Regions from separate parts of the Homo sapiens genome. Here regions 1, 2 and 3 are each linked to region 4. Evidence: promoter capture Hi-C in 16 types of primary human blood cells and fetal thymus (Javierre and others, 2016). All regions are on one chromosome and are shown on one strand. Each heading gives the region's core, a stretch centred on a gene start or on the middle of the fragment in contact. The rest is flanking DNA. Distances are from core to core; before and after follow the strand shown. Region 1 overlaps H2AZ2 (H2A.Z variant histone 2). Region 2 holds the start of PURB (purine rich element binding protein B). Region 3 holds the start of CCM2 (CCM2 scaffold protein). Region 4 holds the start of YKT6 (YKT6 vesicular SNARE protein).

Region 1 (3,430 bases), core at 112-2,611, 640 kb after region 4:
TGACTACTCCTCAGCCTTTTCTTAAAGTTTTTCAGGGGTCCACCAACGTCCCTGTGCTCCTTTCTCATTCTCTTAGGTTAGGAAACTCATCCATAACATAAACTATCCATTTTACATAAATGATCTCAAATTCCTAATTCTATCACCTCTATTAGAAAGCTGAACTCATGTTTCCAACTTCTGGACATTTTCACATGGATGTTTTAGTGAACTTCAAAATGATTCCATTTAAATTTACTCATAACTTGCCCCTACTACAAACTCCTCTGTTCCTTAGGTTCTAAGCCTTAGAGAAACCTGTGACTTTCTCTCAACCTTATACTGCTTCACCTATTTTCTGCACACACATGCTTTCTACTCCTTCCCATTCAAGTATGTTACTTTATTCCTAAACCACTGCAAAAACCTCCATTGGCCTTCCATTTTCTACTTCAAATTAAGTATGCCTTAAAATAAATTCTAATTGGGAATATACATGGAGACCTAAAATACAGAATGTGCATATCAGTTTAAGTTCCCATCCCCCTTCTTTCGGTATCATCTGGATAATGTTGTCCTCTGGCTCAAACTCTCAATGGCTTACCACTGCCAAGAGGATAACAGTTTACAGCTTAGCCTTCCTGATTAAAAGGGTTTCTCAGCCAGGCGCGGTGGCTCATGCCTGTAATTCCAGCCCTCTGGGAGGCTGAGGCAGGCAGATCACGAGGTCAAGAGATTGAGACCATCTTGGCCAACATGGTGAAATCCCGTCTCTACTAAAAATACAAAAACTAGCTGGGTATGGTGGCGCACGCCTGCAGTCCCAGCTATGTGGGAGCCTGAGGCAGGAGAATCGCTTGAATCCAGGAGGCAGAGGTTGCAGTGAGCCGAGATTGCACCACTGCACTCCAGCCTGACGACAGAGTGAGACTCTGTCTCAAAAAAAAAAAAAAAAAAAAAAAAAAAAAAAAAAAAAAGTCTGTAGTAATACAAGTAGATTTTTGTAATTGATGAAACATAGGTCATAAATTACAACAGTAAAGAAAATAATAATGTAATGACAGCATGGATTCATTACCTGTAGCCCAGCTCTCTGTGAGCGAGATACTGCCTTAGCCTTGGCCTTCCCACTGTCCTTTCCAGCTTTGCCTCCAGCCTAAATGCAAAAAAAAATTTTTTTGAATGAAAAGAGTTGAAAATACTACTTCAAAAATATTCTGGAAACAGAATTTTTTCTAGTTTTACTTTAGGTAGTTAACAATATGTAGGTGATCCCCTTCCTCATTTGTAAATATACATGGGATTCTATCACCTTTTATAATTTCTATCAAAGAAATCAAACCTTAAACACTTATTTAAAATATTTTTCTTTTTTCTTGAGATGGAGTCTAGCTCTGTTGCCCAGGCTGGAGTGCAGTGGTGCGACCTTGACTCACTGCAAACTCCACCTCCTGGGCTCAAGCGATTCTCCTGCCTCAGCCTCCTGAGTAGCTGAGATTACAGGCGCACACCACCACACATGGCTAATTTTTGTATTTTTAGTAGAGGTGGGTTTCACTATGTTGGCCAAGCTGGTCTTGAACTCCTGACCTCAAGTGATCCGCCCGCCTAGGCCTCCCAAAGTGCTGGGATTACAGGCATAAGCCACAGTGCCAGGCTGAAAAATATGAGATTTTTAAAAACAAACATATTTATCAATTTCCAGATTAAAGAATCTTGCAAGTCAATATAACTTTTATGCATACATGAAATATTTCACAATTTTTATCAATGTCAATGTAACATATATTACTTCCACAGAAATATTTAGAACTTAGCTCTCAGAAAAATAAAGCATGTTCCAAGAAAAAAAAAAAAAACCTCAAAAAATTAAACACAGAATTGTCATATAGTCTAGCAATTCCACTTCTAGGTATACACCTAAAAATTGAAAGCAAGGATTCAAACAAATACATGTATACCCACGTTCACAGAAGCATTATTCAGAATAGCCAAAAGGTAGAAACAATCTTGAGTGTCCAATGATGGATGAACAAAATGATATACATATAATGGAATAGTATTCAGCTTTAAAAAGGAAATTCTGACACAAGCTACAACATGAATGGGCCTTGAGGACATTATGCTAAGGAAAATAAGCCAGTTACAAAAAAGACAAATACTGTATGATTCTACTTATGAGGTCCCTAAAATAGTAAAGTTCATGGTCAGAAAGCAGATTTGTGGTTGCCAGGGGTAGCTGCCTCCTGGGTTCAAGTGATTCTCCTGCCTCAGCCTCCTAAGTAGCTGGTAGTATAGGTGCGCGCCACCATGCCCTGCTAATTTTTGTATTTTTAGTACCAACAAGGTTTCTGCATGTTGGCCAGGCTGGTCTTGAACTCCTGACCTCAAGTGATCTGCCTGTCTCATCCTCCCAAAGTACTGGGATTACAGGCGTGAGCCACTGCGCCTGGCCGAGTTATTGTTGAATGGGTAGAGTTTCCACTTGGGAAGATGAAAAAGTTCTAGAGGCAGAAGGCAGTGATGGTTGCACACTATAAATGTACTTAATGCCACTGAACTGTACGCTTTAAAAAAACCTATTTCTGCATGAAAAAGGCAAAGTATGTGCCAATGTAATGAGCTTTTAAGTAAATATGGGGTATTATAGAGTATATGTGTACACATGTATTTCTAGTAGGTGACACAATAAATTAGAAATGTTATTTGCCTCTCGGGAGGAAATACTAAAGGTCTGACTTAAGAAAACTAATTTTCTCTCATATATTTTGCTTTTACCATTTAAACAGATTATTTCTTTACTGTTAAAAAAAGAAATCAGTTTACAAGATTGGCTGTTTGAGGGGCTATTCTTTCAAAATAGATGGTAAGCTTTGAAATGGCATATCCCCTTTGTAGCTAACCCTTTCCTTAAAAATTTTTTAAAGCTAAAAATTACCCCTGTATACTTCCTCTAATTGCACGTCTAAGTGGATTAAGTGCGTGTCACCCAAGATAATATGGAAGAAAAACAGTAAAACCCTGGCAGGTATCAGAAACAGGAAAAATAAAAATCTAAGAACTAATTCATATTCACTCTCTTATATTAGGTAATTCAACAAGAGACTGATTTAAGTTTACCAGTAAGAACTGAGACGCTCTCTATTTCTACCAGAATGCCTCATATTTTAATAATTTTTGACTATGTTGTTATATAAGAAAAATACAATTTTTGGATTTTTGAGGTCAGCTCCACTAACAAGACAGTCTTACTTACTTCTCAAATAAAAAACCCTTGTTACCTCCATTTGCCCTAATATATAACACTTAAAAACCTCTCAACTGGCATCTAAAATTATAATCACTGTCTTCCTATGACTGGATTGGAAAAAATAAGAAGTAGTCACTAATAAAAAGCCAACAACTACAAAATTCCCCAGGCTCCCCAGGTCATATAATAACTACTCTGCTT
Region 2 (2,996 bases), core at 69-2,568, 680 kb after region 4:
GGAACTTGACTGCTTTTCTCAAGTTGTCCGTCACTGTTCTCTTACGATTATTTCTCTTAACTGTGTTACGTTTTGTTTTTTCCCTCTGCGGCCTCCCTTGCTCCCTCTCCACTAGCTCACTGGGGATGAGCAGGAAAGGGAATTCTCTAGCCAAGGGGATGGTGGTTGGGTGGAGGCCTGTAGGGGAAGCTGCCCGTTTCAATCCTCATCCACCTCCTCACCCTCTGACTCTTCGCCGCCGCCGCTGCCCCCACCACGTCGCTCATAAAGCTTATCCCTCTGTCGTTCCTGGATTTCTTTCATCTCATCCGCATACCGGCAAAAGGCGCCTCCGAACTTGCCCCAGGCTTTGAAGGGTACGGTGATGGCATTGCGGTAGGACGGCTTCACCTCGCTCACTCGCAGAAACACCCCGTATTTGTTGCAGCCCACATCGAAGAAGAAGCGCTTGGAGTCCACGGTGATGGAGGTGCCCTCCGGGAGCTCTCCATACAGGCCGCCCCCTGGGCCCCCGGCGCCGCCTCCCGGGCCGCCTGCCAGCTCGTCGTCCTCGCCTCCGTAGTCGTCTATGAGCTTCGCCAGCGCGTCGCGGAACTCGATGAGGCCCTGCGCAGGCAGCGCGATGGTCTGGCCGCTCTGCAAGCCGCCCGGCCCGGGGCCCGCGCCGAAGCCGCCACCGCCGCGGTTGACCGTTTGGCGGATGCGCAGGAAGCGGCCGCGCTGGTTCTCCTTGAGGTCCAGGTAGTACTTGCGGTTCTCACGCACCAAGAATTCGCTCTTGAGCGCGCGCCGCGGCCCGCCGCCCTCCTCGGCGCCAGCCGCCAGCTGCTCGGGGCTGCTAGGGCCCAGCTGCGCGTAGTGTTCTATGAAGTCGCCCAGCGAGTCGCGGAACTCGGCGGCCACCGCCATGGACAGCGTGAGGCGGCTCTTGGAACCGCCCGCGCCCACCTCGGCGATCTTGAGGAAGCGGCCCTTGGCGTTCTGCTTCACATCTAAGTAGAAGCGCTTGTTCTGGATGTCCAGCCGCTTCGAGGCCAGCTCCTGCGTCTCTTGCTCGCCGCCGCCGCGGGACGCGGGCTGGAACCCGCACGGCCCACCGCCGCCGCCGCGCTCGCTGCCGCTGTCGCCGTCCGCCATCTTCTAGGCCGCCGCCTCGCCGCCACCGCCCGCCGCGCTCGCGCCCCCGCCCTCCGGCTCGCGCTCCGGGGCCCCCCAGCCTCGCCCGCCCGGCTCGCTCACGCGCTCCCGCCGCTCATCGCCGGCCGCCGCCGCCCCCCCATCGCCTCCGCGCCCCGCCCCCGCGACTTCCGTGCAGCCCTAGCCACTTCCGGCGCGCGATTTCCCGTGAAGTCACTCCGTCCCGCCCTCCGCGGCCTCGCGGCCGGAAGCGCCGCGGCGGCGTGGCGCAGAGGGGTGACGTCAGGGGCCGCGCCGGGCGGGCGGCAAGCTGAGAGTAGGCTAGTGTTACTGCTCGGTTTCTAGCCCTGGGGACTTGCCAGCCTTAGCGTGACTCAGCCGCCCGCTGCGTCTGTCTACGCGCCTCTTCCCGTGACACTTTTACTTTAGACTCCGGTGTCGTCCACTTCCCTCCTTCTCGCTTCCGGGGCGTTAGCTGAGCATACTCAGGCCCCAGCCTGCTCGCGCTGGTTGTGTGCTGGGAACAGAGTTCCAGTCTATACACTGGCGACCGGGGGGAGGGAGATCCTTTGGAGCACTCGGAAGCGGGTTCTGACCAGCCTGTGGGGTTCCCTAGAGGAGGCATGAGCTGACTCTGAAGGGCAAACTGCAGTTGGCCTGGCAACTCTGGAGAAGAGCCACCCAGCATAGGAGACGGCAGTGCAGAGGCACCCAGGGCCTGATGCTGGGAGCTCAGAGCAGCTGGGGGTGTGTATGCCTGAAGAATGGTCGTAGATGACACTGGAGGGTGGATTAGATCAAGGAAAGCCATTTGCAGTGCGGGAGAGTTAGTGCCTACCCCAGAGTCTGGAGCCACCGTATGTGATCAGGTTCACATTTTGGAAAGATCACTGTGGGAACAATATAGAAAGAAGATGATTTAGGATGAGGTTAGATTTGGGATCCAGAGATCAGTTAACTGTCCCCACAGTTAGCCATATTAAAGTGGTTAAGGAAATTGACTGCCAATCTTTAGTTTCTTTATCAATAAAATGAATAATTCCTATGAGGTCTTTTTGTTGTAAGCATTGAGGTGTAACAAGAGGCAGAATTGGAATAGTGTTAAAAAGTGTAGGCTCTGCAACTGCACTGGGTTTGAATCTGTGACCTTGACCAGTTACTTGATTTTCCAAAGCCAAAATGTCCTCATCCTTAAATTTTTTTTTTTTTTTTTTTGAGTCTTGCTCTGTCACCCAGGCTGGAGTGCAGTGGCGTGATTTTAGCTCATTACACCCTCCACCTCCCGGGTTCAAGCAATTCTCCTACCTCAGCCTCCTGAGTAGCTGGGATTACAGGCAACCGCCACCACACCCGGCTAATTTTTGTATTTTTAGTAGAGATGGGGTTCCACAATGTTGGCCAGGCTGGTCTTGAACTCCTGACCTCAGGTGATCTGCCCGCCTCAGCCTCCCAAAGTGCTGGGATTACAGATGTGAGCCACCACACCCAGCCTAAATGTAGTTATTCATAGATAGTGAATCCAACAATGGACTTGTAAAGAACACAAATAATAGATAACCCAATATAAAAGGTGAAAGATTTTAACAGACACTTCGTCAAAAAAGCCAGTAAGCACATGAAACAGTGCTCAACATTATTCATCATTAGGGAAATATAAATTAAAGTCAGAATGAAATACCAACTAGAATGGCTAAAATTAAAAAATGTAACATCAAGTGTTGAGAAGGATGTGAAGAAACTGGAACTCATACATTGCTAGTAAGGATATAAAATGGTATAAATGCTTTGGGAAACAGTTTGGCAGTTTCTTATATACCTTTCATAAAATAAGACCCAACATTTCCACTTTTTTTTTTTTT
Region 3 (3,090 bases), core at 582-3,081, 800 kb after region 4:
ATTGAGTCTCATCCAAATACAAATGATGGTGGCTGACTCCCTTGTTATAGCAAGCTAACAGCCTTTTTGCTTTTCTCATTTTATTGTCTTTATTCCCAGTTATCACCATCTGATCATTAGCCAGTGGACTTTTGCTTGAAGCATGAACCTGTGTATGCAAAGACAGGGCAAAGGTATTCTGATGGATAAGAACAGCCTGAGGAAGTCAGCACATCCAGAGTTAGGCTAAGAGAAGTTTTAGTAGTGTTGTTTACTGTATTATGGAGTGATAAATATGCATTTGTGGAAGACGGTGGAAGACTTTAAATATCAGGCCTTTGTTCTGTGAATGGTGGGAAAATAATGACAACCAGATGCGCTACATCATTTGCGTGTGTAAATGTGGCAAGCTGGATTATTGCAGAAGGCAGATTGAAAGGGTGTTTCCACTATCTCTGCTTTATCTTGCAGAGAATGGAATACTTATGCCTTTGGAGAGGTCTAGAGACCAAGTATTTCTTTTGAATATCAGTATAACATAGGCCCAGTCAGGAGACAGAAACACAGTAAAGAAAAGTTTAATATAAAGAATTATTAGGCCGGGCGCGGTGGCTCACGCCTGTAATCCCAGCACTTTGGGAGGCCGAGGTGGGCGGATCACCAGGTCAGGAGATCCAGACCATGGTGAAACCCCGTCTCTACTAAAAATACAAAAATTAGCCAGGTGTGGTGGCTGGCGCCTGTAGTCCCAGCTACTCGGGAGGCTGAGGCAGGAGAACGGCGTGAACCCGCGAGGCAGAGCTTGCAGTGAGCCGAGATCCACGCCACTGGCACTCCAGCCTGGGCGACAGAGCAAGGCTCCGTCTCAAAAAAAAAAAAAAACCACCAAAAAAACACAGTTTACATTCTAGCTGTGCTACAAAGTTCTTACCGGCAGATTGGTTTAGTGGCAAAATAGCAGACCTGCTGGTGACTCCAATTTGTAGTGTGCTTTTGGGCGAATCACCTCATTCCCCGGACCTCATCTGGAAAATGTGGAAATTATACCGGATGACTGGTAAGGTTCTACGATTTTATTCTGATAGGGTCTGCACATCCTTGTGGTTGCACTTCTATTTTCCAAATGTGTTTGTCTAAGGCAGGCAGACTTTATAACAGAGAAGTACTAGAAAACGGATTCCCTGTGGCTCAGGGAATAAAGTGGGACACAAGAAAAAAGAAAACCGCACCGCACCCAGACTCTCGGCGGGACGCCCCGCCCCTCAACAGTGGCCGCCTCCTCGCGCCCCTCCTTCGCCATCTGCCGGCCGCGTCCCCTCCCGCCGGCCCCCGTCCCCCGTCCCCCGCCCCCCGTCCCCTTTTCAGAGACCTGAGCTCCGCCTCCCTGGACGCGAGGCAGGCTGGGAAGTCGGCCGCCGTAAAGATGGCGGCAAATTGAAAAAGTTGGAGCTGCTCCCGCGCGCGCTCCCGCGCGCGCTGAGTGGGCGGAGCGAACAGGGGGCTGGACAGGTGCGTTCTCGCGGCCGTGCAGAAGCGAAGTAGGGGTAGGAGCGTTTCCGGCTCTCCTGAAGGACGCGGGGCGGGGTGGGGGTGGTGCAAGGCAGGCGCGTTCTCGGCCGTCCTGAAGGGGCAGGATCTTCAGCCTGTGGGCGGTGCTCTCGCCGTGAGCGGGGCCAACGGGCCGTGTTCTCCCTGAAGGGGCGGGGTCTGATCGCTGCGGGTCGGATTCCCTTGGGCCTGAAAGTGAGGATGAGCGACAACCGTGGGCGGGGCCTGCGCTGGGGAAGGTGGGGCCTGGGCGGGGCGGAGGGGGCTCGGGCCCGGAAGTGCGGGTGTGGGGCGCGGCCGGGGCGGAGACTTCGGGCCCGGCTGGCGGGCGGCGCCGGGAGCGCGGGGGCGGCGGGCCCGGGTCGAGCATGTAGCGGCTGCTGGCGGCGGGGCTCCCGGGGCGGGCCGGGCGGGCCGCGGGAGCCGCACGCGGCGATATGGAAGAGGAGGGCAAGAAGGGCAAGAAGGTGAGCGTGCGCGGGGGCGTCCTACTGCTGTGGTCGGCGGGCGGCTGGGTTGAGGGGCCAGGGTGGGGTGGGCGGGTGTTCCTTGGGGCCCGGGGGGGGGGGCAGTGGGCCAGCTGGCGGGGCGGGGCGGGGCAGGGCGAGACCCCGGACAATGGTCAGGTGGGCTTTCGCGGCCGGGCGGGCAGGAAGCGCCGCGCCTTTCCTCTGGCCCGGGCAGCGGCTCGCCCCGACCTCGGCCCCAGACGGCCTTCCCTGCGCGTCGGGACCTGGGGCTGCAGAGGAAGTGGGCCCGGCGAGGGGCCAGAAAGCTGTCCAGGGCTGGAACTGGAGCTAGTGGGCTGTGTGGTTAACGTGGAGACGTTTGCTGCTCACTGGACTTCGTTTTTGGATATCCAGTAAAAGCAAGGGTGGCCTTCACCTTATGGCCAGCTCACTCGTCCACTATCACTCAGACCTAAAACCATTGATTGATTTTAGTGACGCTAGCTACATTTGGCAGTGGGATTTAGGACATAGTTCATAGTCAAACCCCAGTTTATGTAGTTTTACAAAATGTGGCTTTAATTACAGTAAAGGGTTATAGTAGTCGATAAAGAAACATTTTAAGACTGGAAAAACGATGTGGATTGAACTACCATTAAAGTGGAAAATGGATTTTAATAAAATGTATCTTTTTCAAATAAATGCTTTATAATCTTCACGTCTTGGCTATCATTTTCTTTTTGATGTGTGTGTGCGCACTTTTATCCACAAGTTTAAAGCAGACCTCGATAATTCCTAACTATGATTTTACTACCCTGAACTCTGCAGGGAAGTGTCCTTTAATTGACAGCTACTCACCACCTTGTTTGACAGAGTGCCCCATTTAAAAGTCCTGTTTGAAATAGAATGTAGCCAGGTGGCCTTCAGGGAGTCCTGTGGTGCTGGTTCTCTACTTTCTCAACTCATTGTTTCATGTTAGCACCATGCATGTCTAATTTAGGTGCAGTATAATTTGCGGTTATCTACAAAGATGTTTTAAGTCTGGAAAATAGCTCAAGATAGTGATTCAGCCTGCAGGTGTTAGATTAGAGATGCGTGCTGCGCACAGAAGAGG
Region 4 (3,443 bases), core at 568-3,067:
TGTAGCCTTGTAGTATAGTTAGAAGTCAGGTAGTGTGATGCCTCCAGCTTTGTTCTTTTGGCTTAGGATTGACTTGGCAATGCGGGCTCTTTTTTGGTTCCATATGAACTTTAGTTTTTTCCAATTCTGTGAAGAAAGTCATTGGTAGCTTGATAGGGATGGCATTGAATCTATAAATTACCTTGGGCAGTATGGCCATTTTCACGATACTGATTCTTCCTACCCATGAGCATGGAATGTTCTTCCATTTGTTTGTATCCTCTTTTATTTCATTGAGCAGTCGTTTGTAGTTCTCCTTGAAGAGGTCCTTCACATCCCTTGTAAGTTGGATTCCTAGGTATTTTATTCTCTTTGAAGCAATTGTGAATGGGAGTTCACTCATGATTTGGCTCTCTGTCTGTTATTGGTGTATAAGACTGCTTGTGATTTTTGCACATTGATTTTGTATCCTGAGACTTTGCTGAAGTTGCTTATCAGCTTAAGGAGATTTTGGGCTGAGACGATGGGGTTTTCTAGATATACAATCATGTCATCTGCAAACAGGGACAATTTGACTTCCTCTTTTCTTAATTGAATACCCTTTATTTCCTTCTCCTACCTGATTGCCCTGGCCAGAACTTCCAACACTATGTTGAAAAGGAGTGGTGAGAGAGGGCATCCCAGTCTTGTGCCAGTTTTCAAAGGGAATGCTTCCAGTTTTTGTCCATTCAGTATGATATTGGCTGTGGGTTTGTCATAGATAGCTCTTATTATTTTGAGATACGTCCCATCAATACCTAATTTATTGAGAGTTTTTAGCATGAGGGTTGTTGAATTTTGTCAAAGGCCTTTTCTGCATCTATTGAGATAATCATGTGGTTTTTGTCTTTGGTTCTGTTTATATGCTGGATTACGTTTACTGATTTTCGTATGTTGAACCAGCCTTGCATCCCAGGGATGAAGCCCACTTGATCATGGTGGATAAGCTTTTTGATGTGTTGCTGGATTCGGTTTGCCAGTATTTTACTGAGGATTTTTGCTTCAATGTTCATCAAGGATATTGGTCTAAAATTCTTTTTTTGTTGTGTCTCTCTCTGCCACCCTTTGGTATCAGGATGATGCTGGCCTCATAAAATGAGTTAGGGAGGATTCTCTCTTTTTCTTTTGATTGGAATAGTTTCAGAAGGAATGGTACAAGCTCCTCCTAAAATGTGGCACATATACACCATGGAATACTATGCAGCCATAAAAAATGATGAGTTCATGTCCTTTGTAGGGACATGGATGAAGCTGGAAACCATCATTCTCAGCAAACTATTGCAAGGACAAAAAACCAAACACCGCATGTTCTCACTCATAGGTGGGAATTGAACAATAAGAACACATGGACACAGGAAGGCGAACATCACACACCGGGGACTGTTGTGGGGTGGGGGGAGGGGGGAGGGATAGCATTAGGAGATATACTTAATGCTAAATGACGAGTTAATGGGTGCAGCACACCAACATGGCACATGTATACATATGTAACAAACCTGCACGTTGTGCACATGTACCCTAAAACTTAAAGTATAATAATAAAAAAAATGCTTACTTTAAAAAAAGAAAGAAAAGAAAAAAAAAAAAAAGAAGGGTTCAGGCCGCTGTGGGAGGCCCAGCACCACCCAGCACAAGACAGTACGGTATCCCGCCGCGCGCCCGACTCCACCTGGCGAGCAGGGAGGGGCCAAGCTTACGCGAGGCGTGGCATCCCGCCCCTCGCTGCATTGTACTTCCGGGCTCACATTTCTGCATCCGGAGTATGAGAACCCTCAACCAGGCTGACCGGATCCGGAAGTGGATTGCGAGCCAGGAGGAGGAAGCCGGCGGTGGCCCCGTCAGCAGCCGGCTGCTGAGAGGCCGGTAGGCGGCGGCGGTCCCGAGGGGCGGCGGCCGCGCTGCTCCCTGAGAACGGGTCCCGCAGCTGGGCAGGCGGGCGGCCTGAGGGCGCGGAGCCATGAAGCTGTACAGCCTCAGCGTCCTCTACAAAGGCGAGGCCAAGGTGGTGCTGCTCAAAGCCGCATACGATGTGTCTTCCTTCAGCTTTTTCCAGAGATCCAGGTGAGCGGCACAGGCTGGTGGGCCGTGGCGGTCGGGCGGAGAGGACTGGGGTGGGGGTCCGAGTCGGAGTGGGCCTGGGGTCGGCGGAGGGATGAGGGGAGGGTGGAGGAGGCCAAGGGTAGGGGCAGGGCGGGGTGGCCGAGTGCCCGGGGTCTGAGAAGGCTGGTGTCCGAGTCAGAGGCGGGGCGGGGTGGGGAGGGCCCGGGGTCTGCTGTCCGGGCTTGGTCTCCTATAATGGAATCTGGCCGTGGACTCTACCTTTGAGGAACCAACATTAGCTCTTTAAGAGCTTATACCATTCTAGAATATAGTTCTCTACTCAGTGTTTTTCAAATTTCTGTCGTGTAAAAATTTTAAGGAGACTGTGAAGTAGTGCAGATTTCCAAGCTTCATGCCAAGATGTTCTGAATTAGTAGATTGAGGCCTCGGTATTTATATTTTAGACCAACACTTCCCACCCAGTGATTCTGACTCTGGGAGCTTGGGTGCCGCATCTTGAGAGCCATATTTTGATTTTCTTGCGGGGCTTCCCAACAATTCTGTATGAGAGATAGTGATATACTTTTTTTTGTTTGTTTTTAATGGGTGAAGTCACTGAGGTACCAAGAGGTTATATCACAACCAGCTAGAACTGAAAGCCAGGTTTAACGCTTTTTAGTTGGACACTAGTGGTACAAAAGGATTCCACACGGAAGATGCAAATGAAGCATGGGATCTGTAGGGCTTACAGGCTTTTACTTGTTTCTGGGGCGCTTTAATTGCTGGAACGTGTTAGAAGTAACACAGACACTTCCAGACCATTCGTGGGAGGGATTGGGGTGACTCAGGCACGAAAGAAGGAGGACCCTACATGGTCGGTATCTATGGTCATCTTGTCTCAAAATCTGATGGAATCTGCCGTTTGGATTCTGTTTTCCCTGCTTCAGTGCAGCTGGTTCTTGATGAGAGTTCTTTGCCAAGGACTTGCTGGATGTAAAAAAAAAAAAATGTTATTTTGTTGAAACTTTCTGCTTCTTTGAGTTCTTTTAAAAAAATATTTTTAATTGTGGTAAAATGGTACACAAAATTTATCTTCACTATCTTTAAGCGTGTAGTGAGTGCATTGATATGAAATAGATTGATAGTGTTGTGCAGCCATCACTGTCAATCGTCTCCAGAACTCCTTTTTATCAAATTCGTGTCTATTAAACACATTCCCTTCTCCCCCAGCCCATGGCAACTGCCATTCTAATTTGTCTCTGTGATTTTGACTTTTCTGGCGACCTTAGATAAATGGAATCATATAGTTTTTGTGTGTCTGGCTTATTTCATGTAGCATAATGTCCTCAAGGCTCATGCATCTTGTTGCATATATCAGAATTTCT

The links. Contacts are between HindIII fragments. The CHiCAGO score rates a contact against its expected background, and 5 or more counts as called.
Region 1: a fragment that was not itself captured here is called in contact with the fragment with the promoter of YKT6 in region 4 in 1 of 17 cell types (fetal thymus); the score reaches 5.2 in fetal thymus.
Region 2: a contact is called between the fragment with the promoter of PURB here and the fragment with the promoter of YKT6 in region 4, in 4 of 17 cell types (fetal thymus, non-activated CD4 T cells, naive CD4 T cells and 1 more). The highest score is 7.6, in fetal thymus.
Region 3: the fragment with the promoter of CCM2 here is called in contact with the fragment with the promoter of YKT6 in region 4 in 2 of 17 cell types (fetal thymus and total B cells); the score reaches 8.7 in fetal thymus.

What each region holds. Positions count from the first base shown.
Region 1 is chr7:44,842,220-44,845,649 of GRCh38, forward strand. H2AZ2 (H2A.Z variant histone 2) reads right to left here. Exons shown (of 5, transcript NM_012412.5): 2 at 1,058-1,135. Among named protein-coding and RNA genes, the nearest start is that of H2AZ2, 4.2 kb to the right of the region's middle. The HindIII fragment of the contact is 2,973 bases long and covers 1-2,848 here.
Region 2 is chr7:44,884,212-44,887,207 of GRCh38, forward strand. It overlaps PURB (purine rich element binding protein B), which reads right to left and starts at 1,319. Exons shown (of 1, transcript NM_033224.5): 1 at 1-1,319. The coding sequence starts at 1,137. The coding sequence ends at 199. RefSeq lists enhancers at 391-1,350, 1,499-1,748 and silencers at 809-858, 1,149-1,508. The HindIII fragment of the contact is 4,558 bases long and covers 269-2,996 here.
Region 3 is chr7:44,998,370-45,001,459 of GRCh38, forward strand. It overlaps CCM2 (CCM2 scaffold protein), which reads left to right and starts at 1,832. Exons shown (of 10, transcript NM_031443.4): 1 at 1,832-1,994. The coding sequence starts at 1,965. LOC102723334 (a long non-coding RNA gene) reads right to left here and starts at 1,639. Exons shown (of 4, transcript XR_428139.4): 1 at 1,349-1,639; 2 at 911-1,004. RefSeq lists silencers at 1,099-1,148, 1,779-2,308. The HindIII fragment of the contact is 6,187 bases long and covers 1-3,090 here.
Region 4 is chr7:44,199,161-44,202,603 of GRCh38, forward strand. It overlaps YKT6 (YKT6 vesicular SNARE protein), which reads left to right and starts at 1,818. Exons shown (of 7, transcript NM_006555.4): 1 at 1,818-2,079. The coding sequence starts at 1,976. RefSeq lists a silencer at 1,925-1,994. The HindIII fragment of the contact is 756 bases long and covers 1,709-2,464 here.